2 separate regions of the Homo sapiens genome follow, and region 2 is linked to region 1. The links are contacts of gene promoters, found by promoter capture Hi-C in blood cells and fetal thymus (Javierre and others, 2016). All regions are on one chromosome and are shown on one strand. The core of a region is centred on a gene start or on the middle of the fragment in contact, and the rest is flanking DNA. Distances in the headings are between cores, read along the strand shown.

The links. The method cuts DNA at HindIII sites, captures the fragments that hold promoters and counts their contacts. A CHiCAGO score of 5 or more calls a contact.
Region 2: a contact is called between a fragment that was not itself captured here and the fragment with the promoter of MAGEH1 in region 1, in 1 of 17 cell types (endothelial precursors). The highest score is 6.8, in endothelial precursors.

The regions. Positions count from the first base shown.
Region 1 is chrX:55,450,866-55,453,565 of GRCh38, forward strand. It overlaps MAGEH1 (MAGE family member H1), which reads left to right and starts at 1,262. Exons shown (of 1, transcript NM_014061.5): 1 at 1,262-2,700. The coding sequence starts at 1,510. The coding sequence ends at 2,169. MIR4536-2 (microRNA 4536-2) reads left to right here and starts at 630; the gene lies at 630-717. MIR4536-1 (microRNA 4536-1) reads right to left here and starts at 717; the gene lies at 630-717. RefSeq lists enhancers at 1,475-1,524, 1,675-1,724. The HindIII fragment of the contact is 1,343 bases long and covers 143-1,485 here.
Region 2 is chrX:56,249,944-56,252,643 of GRCh38, forward strand. KLF8 (KLF transcription factor 8) reads left to right here. Exons shown (of 6, transcript NM_007250.5): 2 at 288-361. Among named protein-coding and RNA genes, the nearest start is that of KLF8, 19 kb to the left of the region's middle. The HindIII fragment of the contact is 3,724 bases long and covers 1-2,700 here.

The DNA.
Region 1 (2,700 bases), core at 12-2,511:
AGATGGGAAAACAGGCTTAGAGAGAAGTGACTTGCTTAAACTAATACCTTGAATGACATAAGAAAGATATAGAGTGCTAGTTATAGGGCTTTCCTCAATGGAGTAAAAATGGACTCATTACCCTTTTGGGCAGATCAAGACAAGCTTCAGGGAGAAACAGGTCTGTGAGCAGTCAAATGGAATTTAGATAGTTGGAGAAGGCTGAGAAGACAGGTCAGGCAGAGCAAACAGTGAGCAAAAGCAAGCAGTGGATAAAGTTCAGAGTATGCTCTGAAAGAAGCAAAATAAATCAGGAGTCCAGGAAGACTGGAGCCTAGAAACCTTGGAGCCAATCTGAACTCCATCATCCCCTCCACATTCCCCACTTCATCCATTCTGTCTGCAAAGCCCTTCAACGGTCACCTTTAAAATGTCTTTCTGCCTCTCCATCCCCATGGCAACAGCCTTAAGGCATACTTTAGTTCCCAGTGCTTCTTATTCCAATTGCTTCCTATGTGGTCTGCCAGGAAACAGTTTGCTTTTCTGAGAGGCTGCACAAATGCAATTCCTCTGATCCTGTCACTGCCCTGCTTTCATACATACATACATACATATATGTGTGGTAGATATATGCACTGTATATAAACATAATGTGGTAGATATATGCACGATATAGGTATGTATGTATGTATGTATAAAAGCAGGGCAGTATATATATCGTGCATATATCTACCACATTTTAAAGGCTCTGCACCTCTTTCACCCTGCTTGTTTCTGCAGTCCCATCTCCTCACATCATCCAGCACATCTGCCATAACAATATTATCCGGGTCCTACATGGGACCACAAATTGATTAGTATACACACAAATGCCTTCTGAAAACAGGGCGAGTGAATGAACGCGCTGTGTAAGCCAAGACAGGAAAGGAAGGCTGGAGACAGCTGACTCCTTCCAAGAATACACCCTCCCGCCACCCCTGGCCTCCCAACCCCCAACACACACACAGCCCGTCGTCAGTGGGAATGGAGCCGACGCACTCCTTCCCTAGACCGTCGAGCCAATCTTGGAATGTTTGTAGTAGGCTGAAAATACAGAAACTTTAAGCTATTTTTTTCTCTTCTGCAAACTCCAGGCCCCTCCAATCTCTAGCTGTCATTTCTGCCCTTGTCCCACCCCTGTCGCTGCCTGCCCCTTTTCCTATCTGCTAGCGGAAGTCCCTGTGGAGGACCAGCCTACTTCCTCTTTGGTGCTAGGAGTGTGCGTGGCAGGAGAGGCGGGGCCAATTTTGCTGAGCTTTCTCGCGGGCTTGCAGCTGCGGCAAGTGCTGGCGGCGGCTGCTCGCGCAAGTCAGCTGGCGTGGGAACTACCCTTTGTAGCTGAGAACGGCTTGTTTATTGCTACAAAGACTCTATTGACATTGGTAGCTTCAGCGGCAGCAGCTTCTTACGGTATAAAGCTGTTGCTTCCTGAAGAGGCTACAAGCATCCTTCCCTAGGACTGCTGTAAGCTTTGAGCCTCTAGCAGGAGACATGCCTCGGGGACGAAAGAGTCGGCGCCGCCGTAATGCGAGAGCCGCAGAAGAGAACCGCAACAATCGCAAAATCCAGGCCTCAGAGGCCTCCGAGACCCCTATGGCCGCCTCTGTGGTAGCGAGCACCCCCGAAGACGACCTGAGCGGCCCCGAGGAAGACCCGAGCACTCCAGAGGAGGCCTCTACCACCCCTGAAGAAGCCTCGAGCACTGCCCAAGCACAAAAGCCTTCAGTGCCCCGGAGCAATTTTCAGGGCACCAAGAAAAGTCTCCTGATGTCTATATTAGCGCTCATCTTCATCATGGGCAACAGCGCCAAGGAAGCTCTGGTCTGGAAAGTGCTGGGGAAGTTAGGAATGCAGCCTGGACGTCAGCACAGCATCTTTGGAGATCCGAAGAAGATCGTCACAGAAGAGTTTGTGCGCAGAGGGTACCTGATTTATAAACCGGTGCCCCGTAGCAGTCCGGTGGAGTATGAGTTCTTCTGGGGGCCCCGAGCACACGTGGAATCGAGCAAACTGAAAGTCATGCATTTTGTGGCAAGGGTTCGTAACCGATGCTCTAAAGACTGGCCTTGTAATTATGACTGGGATTCGGACGATGATGCAGAGGTTGAGGCTATCCTCAATTCAGGTGCTAGGGGTTATTCCGCCCCTTAAGTAGATCTGAGGCAGACCCTTGGGGGTGTAAAAGAGAGTCACAGGTACCCCAAGGAGTAGATGCCAGGGTCCTAAGTTGAAAATGATGTCGATTGGGGGCGGGGGACACTGTATTTGATATTTGTGATCAGTGATCATTGTTCAACTGCGAAATAGAGTGTTTGCTTTTGATAATGGAAAATTGTATTCGTTTTAAAATTCCGTTTGTTGAGAATAACAATATGTTTAAAAATATAATTGAACAAATTTTTTTCTTTGTTTCCTGTCATTGACATTTAGTATAACAGTTTTGCTAACGTTCTAAAATGAAGTCGTTCCATCATAATCTATGATCTTGTACAGCACTTATAGAAATAAGCTGTTCTTTTGAAGTTGAAATACCCAGTAAAATGTTGAAGAAGGATGGAGGATTTCTTCATATCTGACGTTTCTGAAACCCTTTGTGTCTGCTGTTGTGTGAAGATTGACATTTACCATGATTTTCCTTAGTTACTGCAGAACATAGAGAAAAATAAAAGCCTAACGAATAGT
Region 2 (2,700 bases), core at 146-2,645, 800 kb after region 1:
AACTGTAGCTATACTGATGTTCCTCTGAAGGCAGAGCATGTTGGAGAAATAGGAAGAAACAGATTACCTGCATGCAGTTTGGTGGAGGGGAGCAGCTAATATTATTGGGGAAAAGTTAGGTCCATCTTGATGAGTAAAATAAATCAGAAGGTTTCAATGACTTATCAGTATCTGGTAAGCACTGAAAGATAAAGGTCATAGAACACACATAACATTAATGGCATATTTATGCATATAGTGGGTTAGATTTTATTCTGAAAGTTGTCTTTTCCTTTTCTCTTTTCCAGATATGGATAAACTCATAAACAACTTGGAGGTCCAACTTAATTCAGAAGGTGGCTCAATGCAGGTATTCAAGCAGGTCAGTTATCAGGAAAATAGGGTGCTAATATTGGGCCATAATAGTATTGAATACCTGGTAGTGATTACAGAATTTAAACTCATTTTTCTTTCTATAACATGTTTGGGGATTGAGAAGAGGTGAAGGAAGACATATTTCTAGAAAGTATATGAATGCCTTGGTTTCATAGTCAGCTGGGGAGTAGATCTGGCCTAAAAGAAACATAGCCTCTGGAATCAAGGCTATAAAGACAAGAGTAGACCTTTAGTAGACAATAGCAACTATTTATATAGCACTATTTCATATTTCAGATAGGATGAAGATTAAATGCATTGTCTTATTTAATCTTCACCATAATCCTGTTGAACAGTGTATTAATTAGTATTCTCCAGAGAAACAGAACCAACAGGATATGTGTGTATGGTGTATGTGTGTGTGTATGCATATATGTACATGGAGAGAGAGAGAGAGAGAGATTTCAAGAAATTGGCTCATTAGATTGTGGAGGCATGGCAAGTCCAAAACCCCATCAGGGGTAGGCCGGCAGGCTGGAGATTCAGAAGGAGTTACAGTTTGAGTCCAAAAGCAGATTGTGAGAAGAATTCTTTCTTGCTCTATGGAGGACAGTCTTTGTTTTAAAAACTAAGGTCTTCAACTGATTGGTTGAGGACCACTCACATTATAGAGAGTAATGTGCCCTATTTAAAGTACAATGTTTTAAATGTTGGTCTCATCCAAAAAAATACCTTCACAGAAACATCTAGAATAATGTTTGACCAAATATCTGGGCACTGTAGCCCAGCCAAGTTGTCACATAAAATTAACCATCATTATTCTTAGTTTCCCCATTTGATGGAAAATAAAACTGGCCTTGAACACTCCAAGAATTAGGATTCGAAACAGGTTATCTGGATTTTATGTCCCAGGGCTCTGTGCTAGATGTTGAAGTCCCGTCTTTCTTGGGGTTGCAAATTCACTGCATGAGTGAAACTCAAATACAGTCAAAATTAACCTTGAAAATCCTTAAATCACCTATAGACTTGAGTATACAGTGTTGTATATACAATACTTGTCTGTTTCTTTATTTAATTCATCAGATAAAGTTGGTTACATTTAGGAATCTTTTTGTTATAATTTCAACTTTTATTTTATTTTTTGAATTTTTATATATTTATTTATTTATTTATTTATTTATTTGAGACGGAGTCTCGCTTTGTCACCCAGGATGGAGTGCAGTGGCACAATCTTGGCTCACTGCATCCTCTGCCTTCCAGGTTCAAGCTATTCTTCTGCCTCAGCCTCCTGAGTAGCTGGGACTACAGGCACGCACCACCATGCCCGGCTAATTTTTGTATTTTTAGTAGGGACAGGGTTTCACCATATTGGCTAGGCTGGTCTCGAACTCCTGACCTCATGATCCGCCCACCTCGGCCTCCCAAAGTGCTGGGTTTATAGGTGTGAGCCACCGTACCTGGCCTTATTTTTAATTTTTGTAGGTACATAGTAGGCGTATATATTTATGGGATACATTGAGATGTTTTCATACAGGCATGCAATGTGAAATAATCACATTATGGAGAATGGGGTATCCATCCCTGCAGCATTTATCCTTTGTGTTACAAACAATGCAATTACACTCTTTTAGATATTTTTTAAGTGTACAATTAAGTTATTATTGACTCTAGTCACCCTATCATGCTATCAAATAGTAGGTCTTATTTGTTATTTCCAACTTTTTTTTGTTTTTGAGATGGAGTCTCTCTCTGTTGCCCAGGCTGGAGTACAGTGGTGGCTTCTCAGCTCACTGCAACCTCCGCCTCCCAGATTCAAGCAATTATCTTGCCTCAGCCTCCTGAGTAGCTAGGACTACAGGCACATGCCACCACGCCCAGCTAATTGTTTGTATTTTTAGTAGAGACAGGGTTTCACCATGTTGGCCAGGCTGGTCTCAAAATCCTGACCTCAGGTGATCTGCCCATGTCGGCCTCCCAAAGTGCTGGGGATTACAGGAGAGAGCCACTGCACCCAGACAATTTCTAACTATTTTTTCGTACACATTCACCATGACCACCTCCTCCTCAACACCCCACTGCCCTTCCCAGCCTCTGGTAACCATCCTTCTACTCTCTATGTCCATGAGTTCAATGGTTTCGATTTTTAGATCCCACAAATAAATAAGAACATGTGATATTTGTCTTTCTATACCTGACTTATTTCACTGAACATAATAATCTCCAGTTCCACCCATGTTATTGCAAATGACAGGATCTCATTCTTTTTATGGCTGAATAGTACTCCATTGTGTATCTGTAACACATTTTCTTTATCCATTCATCTGTTGATGAATACTTAGGTTGCTT